2 separate regions of the Homo sapiens genome follow, and region 2 is linked to region 1. The links are contacts of gene promoters, found by promoter capture Hi-C in blood cells and fetal thymus (Javierre and others, 2016). All regions are on one chromosome and are shown on one strand. Each heading gives the region's core, a stretch centred on a gene start or on the middle of the fragment in contact. The rest is flanking DNA. Distances are from core to core; before and after follow the strand shown. Region 1 holds the start of SMURF2 (SMAD specific E3 ubiquitin protein ligase 2). Region 2 overlaps CEP95 (centrosomal protein 95).

Evidence for each region. Contacts are between HindIII fragments. The CHiCAGO score rates a contact against its expected background, and 5 or more counts as called.
Region 2: a fragment that was not itself captured here is called in contact with the fragment with the promoter of SMURF2 in region 1 in 1 of 17 cell types (M0 macrophages); the score reaches 5.6 in M0 macrophages.

The regions. Positions count from the first base shown.
Region 1 is chr17:64,657,946-64,664,967 of GRCh38, forward strand. SMURF2 (SMAD specific E3 ubiquitin protein ligase 2) reads right to left here and starts at 4,362. Exons shown (of 19, transcript NM_022739.4): 1 at 3,884-4,362. The coding sequence starts at 3,935. RefSeq lists silencers at 3,856-4,055, 4,106-4,505 and an enhancer at 4,656-5,214. The HindIII fragment of the contact is 18,568 bases long and covers 1-7,022 here.
Region 2 is chr17:64,520,368-64,527,389 of GRCh38, forward strand. It overlaps CEP95 (centrosomal protein 95), which reads left to right. Exons shown (of 20, transcript NM_138363.3): 7 at 1,035-1,160; 8 at 2,335-2,528; 9 at 5,403-5,515; 10 at 5,704-5,833; 11 at 6,744-6,897. Among named protein-coding and RNA genes, the nearest start is that of CEP95, 17 kb to the left of the region's middle. The HindIII fragment of the contact is 4,120 bases long and covers 2,540-6,659 here.

The sequences.
Region 1 (7,022 bases), core at 3,112-5,611:
TAGAAGACAGAATTTAAAAGAAAAGGAAGGAGCTCAACTACACTGGCTTCCTCCTCAGAAACCAAGAAAATAAAACAAATTGGGGACATTCAAATCACTAACACCTCTAGTATATAAAGTCATTATGGGCCGGGTGCCGTGGCTCATGCCTGTAATCCCAGCACACTGGAAGGCTAAGGCGGGCGGATCACCTGAGGTCCAGAGTTTGAGACCAGCCTGGCCAACGTGGCAAAACCCGTCTCTACTAAAAATACAAAAAAAACCAGCCAGGCGTGGTGGTGGGCGCCTGTAATCCCACCTACTCGGGAGGCTGAGGCAGGAGAATCACTTGAACCCGGGAGGTGGAGGTTGCAGTGGGCCGAGATCAAGCCCTTCAACTCCAGTCAAGAGTGAAACTCCAACTCAAAAAATAAATAAATAAAGTCATTATGATGTATAGGCATACTTAAAAACCTGTGAAATAGAATTAAGCTACAATTTTTAAAGCCTTGAATCGATAAAATATGTAGTGAAACAAGATTAAGACGCTAGCATATCTAAAGGGAAATTTTTAAAGTTAAACTTCCTTACATTATAGACAAGGTTAACCTCCTTATTGCCAAGGGCTTTGAAATTAATAACATGAGAAGCAGCATACAAAAACATTAAATGTATAAAAAGGTCTGAAACAAATGTTCTGGAGGAGTAATCTTATTCTGCTTCTCCATACCTAAGAATTTAAAATATTAGAAATTACACTAAACTGCTTTTTCCAGCCTTTGGTTTTCAGAAACAATAATGGTATAAAAAATTATCCCAAAGTTTTTACTGTAAAGAATATTTTTCTATCCAAACCATTGAAAGAAAAGCCTGTATCAGATATAAGTATAATGATATAGACATTATACATTTTGTAATCAATGTTATAGAAACAGTAGTTGAAGTTGATAGTGTTACCATACAGCCCATTTCAATGATCATATGTTAATGTGTCATAAAGAACAGAAGTAGCTTGATGGATGAAATCAGATTCTAACCCCCAACTGCCTGAGGAATCTAAAATTTGGGATCAAATTATTAAATTAGCCCCACCTTCTTAGCATTGACAAATACCAAACAGTTCACTGATTGTGGTTTTAAGAATAATATGTGGAAAGGTTTAATATCAATTGTGGGCAGAGATCTCATGGCTTAAATATTTCCTCTTCTTCAGAGAGAGTGTGTATGAGTGTGTGAGTGTGTGTGTGTGAGTGTGTGCATCACCATGTAAGAAATGTTTATACCTTTCAGCAAAGGGGCAATTCCACAATAAAGTTATTATCAAGTAACTAAAGTTTATACAGCATCTTGAAATCAAAGGTACTCTATAAATTTAAAATACTAATATGGTATTAACTTAAAGCAAAGAACAATAATTTTAAAACACCTTATAGCCCAAGTGTATTGTAAACCAAATATAAATTCACTGTGGGATCTGTCTTTTTTTAAGTGATTTTTTTTCCTCTATTAGGCAACCCAGATCTAAATGAACTGTTAAACACTTAGTCTAAAGGTATGCCAAACATTTCTTAAGGTCTTCACAAAGAATCAACTTTTTTTTTTTTTTTTTTTTTAAACAAAATGAGGCCTAGGTTAAATATTTTATTTGGCTTCTCAAGATGGACTGAGAAGTTGGGCACCAGCTCCAGACCAATTCCTGGACGCACATCAAACACAGCCCTGTCATTTATCCAGTCAGTCAAAACAATCTTTTCCATCTAACCCTTTAATGTTTATGTCCTAAAAAGCTGCTAATTGAATCCAGCTCTTGAGATCTATTTGCTAAAATCTATACCATCTAATTTATAAATGATGAACAAAAATGGAAGAAAAAATATGTTAACTTTCCTGGCAAAACAGAAGAGACTCCACTGTAACCAAAGAAGGAAGGACAATGTTTTTAATATTTGTCAAATTTTAAGAGAAAACTATTCAGAGACAAATAGTTGTAAGAAACTCAGAGTACCTCAAACTGTTTTTACTATTAAGAGGACACAGGGTATTTAAAATTCCTCAGAAAAACCTGAAACAAAATCACTATAAATGTAGTTCAATATTCCCCCTTCCCCTAAAATATAAGCATAATCTTTCCTCTTAATAAACTTTAATTATAAATTCTTATAATGTATCATAGGCAGTACGGAAACCACAGATAAACACTTTAAGATCTATTAAGTCATACTAAAAACCTCAACTAACCTTATCTGCAGAAAATCAAAAACCCAATTTTTTCCCTCATTTTCTCTACATAGCCCAGAGGAGGGTAAATGGAAACAGCCTATTTCTGATGCTTTCTGCACACCTGGGATCACATGTTCTTTCCACGATCACTGACTACAGACAGCAACAGCAACAGATAAACTCTAAAGCAACAAAGATCCCCTATAAAGGTTTCCACTGACTCCTCCCAATGTAAGGACACTGAATGAGGGGGGAGGGGGTGGAATACAAGTATCCTCCAATCCAGGTTTTCCATTAAGAATCACTCAGTTAATGATTCCCTGCAATTTTCCCTAGGGAAAGGAAAACTGCCATGAAAGTAATATATTATTTAAATTGCAGCCAACATACATTCAAGCTAAATTCTCAAATACCAAATTCACTGCAAGTTTTCATCCAGCAAGTTCAGCCAGTGGACTGGGATGTGACACACAGGCATTTAACTACAAAATTAGTCCAAATAAATCTCAAAGTCTAGTGTGGGCAAACATAATTACAGTTTATCCGTACACGTGCACGCACACACAAATCCTCTACGGAAAATTATCTTTCTCACCACTCACCCGAATACAAACGTGGACAATTTATCAGGGGTAAATGGTGAAGGTAGGATAACGCCGTGATTCCAATTCCTTTACAAACCAAATAAAAGTTCTCCTAAAACGGGGGTGGCATGTCCATGTAAGAATACCAAAAATGGCACTGTAAGCAAAACGTACCTGTAATGTTAAAGATTTCATGCACCTGGAATCATAAACACTTTGTAAGTGTAGTCTTCTATCTGGCAACCCCTCCGGACATTCTTTTCCATTTCGAAAAAGGAATGGGGAGGGTGGGGAGAGTAACAGAAAGTTTGCTCGAAAGTTTGTATGAGCACATACTTAGCAATGCACCCCCCCCAAAAAAGTGTGTTTTTAAAGCAGGTCTGGCGTTAGAAGTTAGACACAAGTTCTGCGGCCTAAAAGGAACAACCCCAAACATGCCACCCTACAATCAGACACTTCCAAAACACAGTGTACAATGAGCCCAAGCCGTCGGATCAGACAGGCACACCGGAAAAGTCAACCTGTCTCCTCACCTCAGAGACATGAGTTTAAGGTGTGTGGCCCGGGCAGCGGTGGCCGGCGGCGGGGAGTAAAGGTTTTTCATGCGGGCATAACTGGGTGTGTGCAAGGTAACAACCCGGGAACACACACGCACACCCTCCCGTTAAGCGCTCCATCTTTAAGGAGTGTTTACTGCGCGCAGTCAGCAACCGGATTCAATAATCCTCGCCACGGGAGCTCTTCATCCCCTTCACGATCTCACCTGGGCGGTAGCCCAGGGGCTGTTCCCCGAGCCCCGGGAGGCAGCGTCTGGCTCCTTGACCAAGACTTTCCGACCTGAAATCCGCCTGCGATGCGAACCGGTGTATTCTCCCCTCCACAAAACACCACCCCCCGCCCCGAGTCATCCTCGGCTTTTTAAACAATGTCCAAACCAGAGCAAGTGGTTTTCCAATTACTCTCCCTGAACTAGGCCTTCCCATTCCTCCGACCCCCAACTCATCATTGATCGCGACCCTGGCCCTTCCCAAGGCCACAGGCACCCCCCGCCAGCTCGCCCACCCCGCGGCTGCCCAGCCCGGCCCGCCGCCCCCCCTCACCTGTCAGGCGCAGCTTGACGGGCCCGTTCCTCCGGCCTCCGGGGTTAGACATGTCCCCGGCGGCGGGGGCGGCGGGGGCGGCGGGCGGCACGGGGGCGACGGCGAGGCGCGGCGGAGTCACCACAGCGGCCGGGGCTGGGGCCCGAGCAGCCGGCGCCTCGGCCGCCACGGCCGGAGGGTCCCGGATGTGCCGAGAGTCGTCGCCATGAGCCGCGGAGGGAGCGGGACGCCGAGCTCCCCCCTCCTCCCACTTCTCCTTCCTCGGCCCGGGCCGCACAACAAAGCGGCAGCCGCGGCCGCCCGCGCCGCCTCCGCCCGCGCCCCCGCCGCCTCCTCGCGGCCGCCGAGGCCTTTCCCTCCTCTCGTCTCGGCGAGGCCCAGTAGCCGACGGGGCTGGTCGGCTGAAGCGGGCGGTGCTCGGGGGCGCCGGAGCAGAACTCTGGGCTCGGCCGCTTCCTCCTCCACCCGCCCTCTTGTCTGAGGGACCCGGGACCTGGGGCCGCCGCCGCCACTCGTCGGCTCCGGGGGGCGGGGAGGAGACGGGAGGCGGGGCCGGCGGGGCGGGGCGGGGCCGGGGCGGGGCCGGCGGGCGCGCGCAGGGTGCCCTGGCGGGCACCGGCAGTCAGGGAGGGTGTGAGCTGCCGCCGAGGGTCCCACGCGGAACGCTGGGAGGGAGCAGGCAGGGAGCAAAGCGGCGGCGGGCGCGGCAGCTCTGTGGCACCTGGAGGGGTTTACTGTCCGGGCCACTTAAGGGAGAACTTTTGTCCAAGCAGGGCCAACTGCATTTTATTAGACGCCCACTGCGTGCAGGGCGCTCCGAGAGGCTGGGGCGAGGAAGGTTAGAACCGAGTCCGCTGCCTGCCGGGAACTTGGCGTCTTTCGGGCGAGGGAAGAGAAAGCATTCCCACGCCGATGGTTCCAGCAAAACCCCAGGAATGCTCTGCTCCTGGTCTTGTAGTTGACACCTCCATCCGGGACTCACCTGGTGGAGGAGATCAGGTTACCTGCCGACTCCCGCTCTTTTCAGGTGCAGCCAAGGATGGGGAGATGATACGTCTTAAAGGATTAACAAGATAAACCTTGGAGAGTAATGTATGAAGAGTTGTTCATACGCTACTGTATTTCGTTATCTCAGGAGGAGAAAGAGAAAAGTTTTTAAAAAATGTGTACCTTATCCTTTGACATTGTAACTGTACTGCTAGAAATTTATTTTTTATTTTTTTGTTTTTAGACAGGGTCTCCCTCTGTCGCCCAGGCTGGAGTGCAGTGGTGCGAACACGGCTCACTGCAGTCTCAACTTCCGGGGCTCAGGTGATCCTCCCACCTGAGCCTCTGGAGTAGCTGAGACCACAGTGTGCACCACTACGCCCCACTAATTTTTGTATTTTTAGTAGAGACATGTTTAGTAGAGACGTTTAGGTTTTCCCATGTTGCCCAGGCTGGTCACGAACTCCTGACCTCAAGCGATCAGCCCGCCTCGGCCTCCCAAAGTGCTGGGATTACAGACCTGAGCCACCGCACCGGCCCTATTCTTGACAAATAATCGTACAGAAGATGTTCTTTGCTATATTCCATTAATAACAAAAGGGGAATGAGGGAATAGCATAATAGTCCAGGAACCGCATGGTTTTTTATGCAGCCATGTAACTATTTTTATGAAGATCATATAATATGGAAGAATGTATATGTAATGCAAAGTTTAAAAACAGAATAGAAGTTGTATGCATATACATGCGAAAGTATCTAGCACAATGTAAACTACTAAGGACAATAGCGTGGGGGATTTTTTATGTGATTCGTTAGTTTTGCTTTAGGCTATTATAACATTAATGCAATTTTAAATGTTTTGGATTAATATATTTTAATCCTTATTCCATGCCAGTCATTTCTTTTAATACATCAGTGAACTCACTTCTCCAGATAGTTACCTGCGAGAACATTTCATCAGTTTGGATACAGCCCTACAATTAAAAGTAATCCAAAAAAGTATATGAAGTTCTAGACATCACACTAAAAATACCACAGATAGGCCGGGCACAGTGGCTCACGCCTGTAATTCCAACACTTTGGGAGGCCGAGGTGGGCGGATCATTTGAGGTCAGGAGTTTGAGACCAGCCTGGCCAACATGGTGAAACCCCGTCTGTACTAAAAAAAAATACAAAAAAATTAGCCGGGCCTGGTGGCGCATGCCTGTGGTCCCAGCAATTAGGGAGGCTGAGGCAAGAGAATCGCTTGAACACGGGAGGTTGCAGTGAGCCGAGATCACGCCACTGCACTTCAGCCTGGGTGACAGAGCGAGACTCCATATCAAAAATAAATACATAAATAAATAAAAATTAAAATACCAGAGATAGTGCCAGCAATTCATTCAACAAATATTAAGTGGCCATTTTGTGCAAAGCAATGAACAAGGTCCTTTAGAAATGCTTCCTTGTACTACAAATATATAGAAATCAATGTGAACAATAGCTGCTACCACAATTTAAGAGGGCAGACAGTGGCAAAAAACTTAGCAAACTAATGTACACATACACATTTGCCTTATTTTTACAGCACGCTTTGTTCCCAACCACCCAACTAACATAATTTGTAGCCTTGTATTAGGTAATAGAAGTTAGGATTTCAGAACGTCATGGGAGACCTGGGGGAGACTGCTTGTTTTGAAGTTGAAAGCAGTAAATTAAAAAATGTAAGTGACAGCATAGAAAAATGTATATAGGGTTAACGTGCAGAGGTTTGTATTTAGGCTTTCTTGTAAGGTTAAATCCTGTTGTTTAAAACAAATATTCAGATAAGAATAACACTAAAACCATTCAAGGGCTGGGCATGGTGACTCATGCCTGTAATCCTAGCACTTTGGGAGGCCGAGGCAGAGGAGTCACTTGAGCCCAGGAGTTTGAAACCAGCCTGGGCAACATGGCAAAACCCCGTATCTACAAAACATTAGCCAGGAGTGGTGGCCTGCACCTATAGGCCCAGCTACTCAGGAGGCTGAGATAGGATCACCTGAGCCTGTGGAGGTCAAGGTTGCAGTGAGCCGTGATCACACCACTGCATTCCAGTGCCACTGCATTCCATCCTGGGCAGCATACTGAGACTATCACAAAAATAAAAAGAAAATCAATGTACTGGTAATGA
Region 2 (7,022 bases), core at 3,350-5,849, 140 kb before region 1:
GCTTCCTTTCATATTGAGATTTAAAGTGTCAGATAACTGTCATATACATTCACAGGCATCTAATTTAAGCTTCAATATATGGACCATAGTCTTTTTTTTTTTTTTTTTTTGACACTAGGTCTTGCTCTGTCACCCAGGGTGGAGTGCGGTGGCGCAATCTCGGCTCACTGCAACCTCTGCCTCAGCCTCTCAAGCGGCTGGGATTACAAGTATGTGCCACATGCCCAGCTGATTTTTGTATTTTTAGTAGAGATGGGGTTTCGCCATATTGGCTAAGCTGGTCTTGAACTAATAACCTCAAGTGATCTGCCTGCCTTGGCCTCCCAAAGTACTGAGATTACAGGTATGAGCCACTGCGCTTGGCCTGGACCATGAGTCCATGTTTCTGGTACTAGCTAAGACCCTAACTCTGGTGTCTATTCATACCAAGACATGTCCATAAAACAGCCAGCATTTCCGTAACTCTGGCATCTATTTTTCTAAAGCTAAATAATGAAACATTGTATGAAACTTTGCTTTTAAATTGTATAAATGATTCTGGATTACAAAATGGCATCTTACTTTCTGATAGCAATTAAAAATAATTGATATTATGGCCCGTCACAGTGGCTCACGCCTGTAATCCCAGTACTTTGGGAGGCTGAGGTGGGCGGATCACCTGAGGTAGGAGTTCGAGACCAGCCTGGCCAACATAGTGAAACCCTGTCACAATACAAAAAATTAGCCAGGCATGGTGGCGGGTGCCTGTAGTCCCAGCTACTCTGGAGGCTGAGGCAGGAGAATTGCTTGAACCTGGAAGGTGGAGGTTGCAGTGCAGCGAGATCACGCCATTGCACTGCAGCCTGGCGACAAGAGGGAAATGCTGTCTGAAAAAGAAAAATAATAATTGGTATTTTGAGCAGTTGGACCAACATTATTTCGTTCAACATTATTTAATATTTGTTTCCTGAGTACAAAACTCTTGGCTTTTAGTATAATGTTCAGCAAACTATTTTGATAGTTAAAAATTTTACCTTTAATATTTTCTTTCCTAGGTGCTCAATGTCCTAATGAAATGCTGTCTAAAAAAGCCTTAGCCTCACCAAGTTCTAAATCACATGAAGATATGTTGTACCCTCCTAGTGTTTTGTCCAAGAGTAGGACATCCTTTGTTGAAGACAGTGAGTTGTAATGGATGTTAGTTCTTTACTGCTGATGATCATTCTTGGGGCAATTGTTGTTGCCATTAGCCTTTTTACTTTTATTGCTGTATATGAGATCCTTTTTGGTCTTACATGATCTTACTTGTAAATGTTTGCTATTAATTATGGTATCTGAATTCTGCTTAACATGGTCTTTGGTTGCATATTTTTGCATCCACTATTTTATTATCTAAATTCTCACCACTTACCTTTTTTTTTTAATGGGACAGAGTCTCTGACACATTAGTACATCTATTGGTGGTCTTCATATTATTGGTAAATAACAAAGTATAGTAACTGGAAAAACATTCTTTTTTTATTGTTTCGAGACAGAGTCTAGCTCTGTTGCCCAGGCTGGAGTGCAGTGGCATGATCTCGGCTCACTGCAACCTCCGCCTCCTGGGTTCAAGCGATTCTCCTGCCTCAGCCTCCCAAGTAGCTGGGATTATAGGCGCTTGCTACCACGCCCAGCTAACTTATTTTTAGTAGAGATGGGGTTTCACCATGTTGGCCAGGCTGGTCTCGAACTCATGACCTCGTGATCCGCCTGCCTCAGCCTCCCAAATTGCTGAGATTACAAGCGTGAGCTCCCGCACCCGGCCTGGAAAAATCATTCTTGTTTCTTATTATCATCTCTGGAATTTTCATATGGTAGTAATACATAAAAATATTACTGCCTAACTGGTTTTGTAACGTGGACGAACCATAATTCACATAACATAACATTCTTCAAGCCATTTAAGTTGCTTCCAGTTTTTAAAGTAACTTTCAGGGAACAGTTTTATGATAATAACATTAAAATTACATCCGGGGCCAGTCATGGTAGTTCACACTTGTAATCCCAGCACTTTGGGAGGCCGAGGCAGGAGGATCACTTGAGCCCAGGAGTTGGAGACCAGCCTGGGCAACATAGCGAGACCTCATCTCTACTTTTTTTAAAAATTAAAAAAAAAAAATTACATCCTAATTTAATTAGATCCCTGTGTGCTGAGGCTATATCCCTGGTTTAATTATTTTTTTATGTGCTTTGTCTTAAGTTTAAAAAATATTTCTAATGTATGTGAACATGTTTATATAGGTATGTATGTATGTATATAAAATGGTTTATTTCTTAGAATTGCATCGTAATATCCACTTTAATTTGTCTTACTAGCGGAAACCCTTTCTGTGAGTGGGATTCCAAATGCTAGGAAGCTAGGGGAGCCTATCCGAGCAGCTATTCCTTTACATCCACCCTACCACCCTTCAGAGCCTCGAGCACCCTGCCCCATAGGAAAAGAATACTTGCATTCAAGTCACTGCTCCCCAGCCGTAAATTCTACTGGAGAGCATACGGAATTTTCTGGGGTAAGTGGAAAAGCTTACTTTCAGTTGGCTAGAAGTACACTTGTATGTATGTCTGTGTGTGTGTTGGTAATTGATTAGAAGGCCGTGTGTGTGTATGTGTATTGGTGAAGTCTTTATTCTTTGTCAAGGAAGCCCCTATATTTAAAGAAGTCTGCTAGAATTGTCAAGCATATTGCACTAGTCAAAGCATCGTACTCCTTAAAATTTGCCTCTGTATACACCTGCACATTCTTGTTCTAGGAAGATAGGAGAAAAACGAATGCATATAAAGGGAAATAATAAGAGCCAACACATAGTGAATGTTTATGTTGTGCCAGGCGCAGTTCTGGATACTTTAGGGGTATTGAATAATTTACTGCCCATAACAACTCTGGAGTAGCTACTATATTTATTTATTGTTGGGAAGCTGATGTAGAGAGGGCAAGGTTACACAGCAATTACAGAGTCAGGATTTGAACTTGGACATTCTGGCTTCAGAGTCCATATTGTGTCCGTAATTTAATAATTTCAAATTTAGAAAACACAGAGTGGAAAAGAAAATAACCATCCATGCATATTCCCATTATCCACCATGAACCACTGTTAACATATTGATCTATTTGGTTCAATTGCAGTGAGCCAAGATCACGCCACTGCGCTCCAGCCTGGGTGACAGAGTAAGACTTCATCTCAAAAAAAAAAAAGAAAAAACCTTTTTTATATAGTCATCCTGTCCTTATCTTTCTAAAAAGAACAGGACTGGGTTCGGTGGCTCACACCCATAATCCCAGCACTTTGGGAGGCTCATGTGAGTGCCAGAGTTTGAGACCACCCTGGGAAACATAGTGAGACCTTGTCTCTGCTAAAAATAGAAAATTAGCCTGGAGTGGTGGTGCATGCCTGTGATCTTAGCTACTTAGTAGGCTGAGGCAGGAGGATCACTTGAGCCCAGGAGCTTCAGTGAGCTGTGACCACACCACTGCATTCCAGCCTGGGCAGCAGAGCAAGACCCTGTCTCAAAAAGAAAAAAATAAAATAAGAAAAACAACAGGCAGGTATGTACACAGGGTAGATATATAAACAGTGATACATTTTCATTATTTAAACATTCAAGCAATGCATTAAAAGTACAGAGATGAAATAAGCATTATTAACAATAGGTGACCACATTCTCAACATTCTGTGCATCTAAACAGGAGAGGGATTAGATAAAAAGAGGTGTTAAAATGGAGTCATAAGATAATGTTTACTTTTGGGGGAATCATAGTGGGGGTTTTAGAGATATTTCTGAGTTGGTAATACTCTGTTTCTTGACCTGGGTGGCAGTTAAAGGGGAGTGTTTATTTTCAAATAATTCATTGAGCTAGAAATACTTTATTTTAAAAGTTTTATTAAAATATGATTATATTTTAGTTGCTATTTAGTAAAAGGTTGTTTGTTTTATTTTTTTTTGAGACAGAGTGTCGCTGTGTCGCCCAGGCTGGAGTGTAGTGGTGCAGTCTGCACCCACTGCAACCTCCACCTCCCAGGCAAGTGATTCTCCTGCCTCAGCCTCCCAAGTAGCTGGGACTACAGGCACACGTGCCACCACACCTGGCTGATTTTTTTTAAAAATATTTTTAGTAGAGACGGGGTTTTGCCATGTTGGCCAGGCTGGTCTCAAACTCCTGGCCTCACCTGCCTGCCTCTGCTTCCCAGATTGCTGAGATTATAGGCATGAATCACCATACCCAGCCTACTAAAGGGTATTTAATTTTACTTTAATAGAAAAAGATAATGAAGTGAAATTAAAGATATCATTAAACATTAAATAAATGGCCGGGTGCGGTGGCTCACACCTGTAATCCCAGCACTTTGAGAGGCTGAGGTGGGTGGATCACGAGGTCAGGAGTTCAAGACCAGCCTGGCCAAGATGGTGAAACCCTGTCTCTACTGAAAATACAAAAATTAGCCAGGCGCGGTGGCAGGTGCCTGTAATCCCAGCTACTCTGGAGGCTGAGTCAGGAGAATTGCTTGAACCCAGGAGGTGGAGGTTGCAGTGACCCAAGACTGCACCACTGCACTCCAGCCTGGGTGACAGTAAGACCCCATCTCAAAAAACAAAAAAACAAACAAACATTAAATGTTTCTTCATCACAAGAAGTATTTTCTAAAAGATTATCTCTAAGACCAAGAAATAAATTTAGCCGGACACGGTAGCTCATGCCTGTAATCCCAGCACTTTGAGAGGCTGAGGCGGGTGGATCACTCGAGGTCAGGAGTTCGAGACCAGCCTGGCCAACATGCGAAACACCGTCTTTACTAAAAATACACAAAAAAATTAGCCAGGTGTTGTGGCATATACCTGTAATCCCAGCTACTAGGGAGGCTGAGGCAGGAGAATCGCTTGAACCTGGGAGGCGGATCAAGCCATTGCACTCCAGCCTAGGCAACAGAGGAAAACTGTCTCAAAAAAAAAAGGAAATTTAAAATGTTAAGGGTTTATATTCATATTTTGAGAGGTGTTGTCTTTGTTTTAACTGTTTCAATTTTGGACAGCCTTTATTGACATTGATACAAAAGATAGCCACTTGAATACTTTGTACTAGTGATAATTTTTTTGTTGCTCAGGTATAGTGGTAATCCCTGAAATTTCATATTTAGAGAACACCTGGCCTGTGTTTTTATTTGAATGGCATCCTGAGCCACATTTGTTCTCTGAGCACAAGTTTCTAGACATTGCTCCAGTCCTTTGGTGCACTGGGTGTCAATAGGGTCTTTTGACAAATGCACTTCAAAACACGGAGATTGAAGGCACGTAGCTTTGTGCCACAGTTCCTCCCTTCCTCACTCCCAGAAAGTTCATGTTTCTTATTTGTAGCTTTTTCAAATCAACTTTTTTTCTGTTTTTAATAGGATCTAGATGATGGACTTTTCTTAATTTCCAAGTTGCCTAAAGGCAGCAAATGGGAAGTATATCCAGCTCAGGTCCAAGGGCCTAGGACAAGGAAGCCTCCCAAAGGAAAAAGGTAACATTACTGCAGACTTCAGTGTTTACAGTCTGTTTACAAAGGAATTTGAAAATGCAGGGGCATGATCTCCAAATTTAGCTGTGAAGACCAGAATGAAGTATTTGTTAAAGTACGTATTACAGTTATTTTAAACTAAATAATAGACACCTAGCTATTTTACTGTCAAATGGTCACTTTTATTACAGAAATGAAAACAGAGCTACAGCCTCATCCTGCAATTCACCTTTCCCCCAGAGGCCAAGAAAGAGATTAACAGAACAAGAATTACATGATGTATCAGAAAAACTCTCTCAGCGGCTTTCTGAACTAGATTGGGCAAGTCTTGTTTTTTCATCTATATTGAGATTCCCATGGGTTAAGTGAGCATTTAAGTAATCTCTCAATTGAAAGTGAGGTATTAGAAAATTAGTTGTGTCTTATTAATAGTTACTGTGAAAATGTTCCGTAAGTCAAGCAGGTAGAACAGGAAGTGATCTCTCAGCGTTTCATGATCTAACTAAATTTGGTGCAGATTTATCCAAATTTTATTGAATTCTGATGAAAACTAAATCATTTAACATAAACGATTATGTTAAGCCATTTTTCTTTAGATATGTCTTTATAGTTCCCCTTTGCCGCTAAAGACAGATCTGGTATAAAATTGGATGGATCACTGATTCTCACAAAATACAATATTACAGTTTTAAGGTATCATTGAATGAATGTTTTAAATCCCTACGTGACTTTTTCTAAAGTTTATTGAAACTTAGTGATCCATAGCACTGATATACACCTTTTTAAAACTAAACATGTATGCCAGGTGTGGTGGCTCACAACTGTAATTCCAACACTTTGAGAGGCTGAGGCAGGTGGATCACTTAAGCCCAGGAGTTTGAGACCAGCCTGGGCAACATGGCAAAACCCCATCTCTACAAAAAATAAAAGATTAGCCAGGCTTGGTGGCATATGCCTGTAATCCCAGCTACTCAAGTGGTTGAGATGGGAGGATCACTGGAACCCAGTAGGCAGAGGTTACAGTGAGCCCAGCTAGCACCACTGCACTCCAGCCTGGGTGACAGAGTGAGATCCTGTCTCAAAATAAAAGTAAATAATTAAACATGCATAAGCGTCTGAAAACTTGTTATTAGTGACTGTCAAAGGAAGCTTTTTTAAAGGTCTGCCTACTCCTACGAATTTACATTCTGCTGAAATCAGTGAAAGATGTTGAAAAGAATTTTCTCAATAGATGTTAAAAAGTGCTCTGGGTGATCGGATTAAAGAAAAGACTGACCATAAAGAAGAAAATACTGGAAATGAGGAGGTAGAGGATGGAACTGAGGAGACACTGTCTCAGCACAGTGATGGCATCGTGGAGTATGGGCCAAAGAAGTCAAGGCCAGGTACTTACCCCAGAGAGACTGAGAAGGGGGACATCCATGTGAACTACTTAGGCAGTTCCATCTGTTCTTAATAACTTATATTCTAATTTTAAATAGTTGAGAAATATATAAAAGGATCAAAAGTA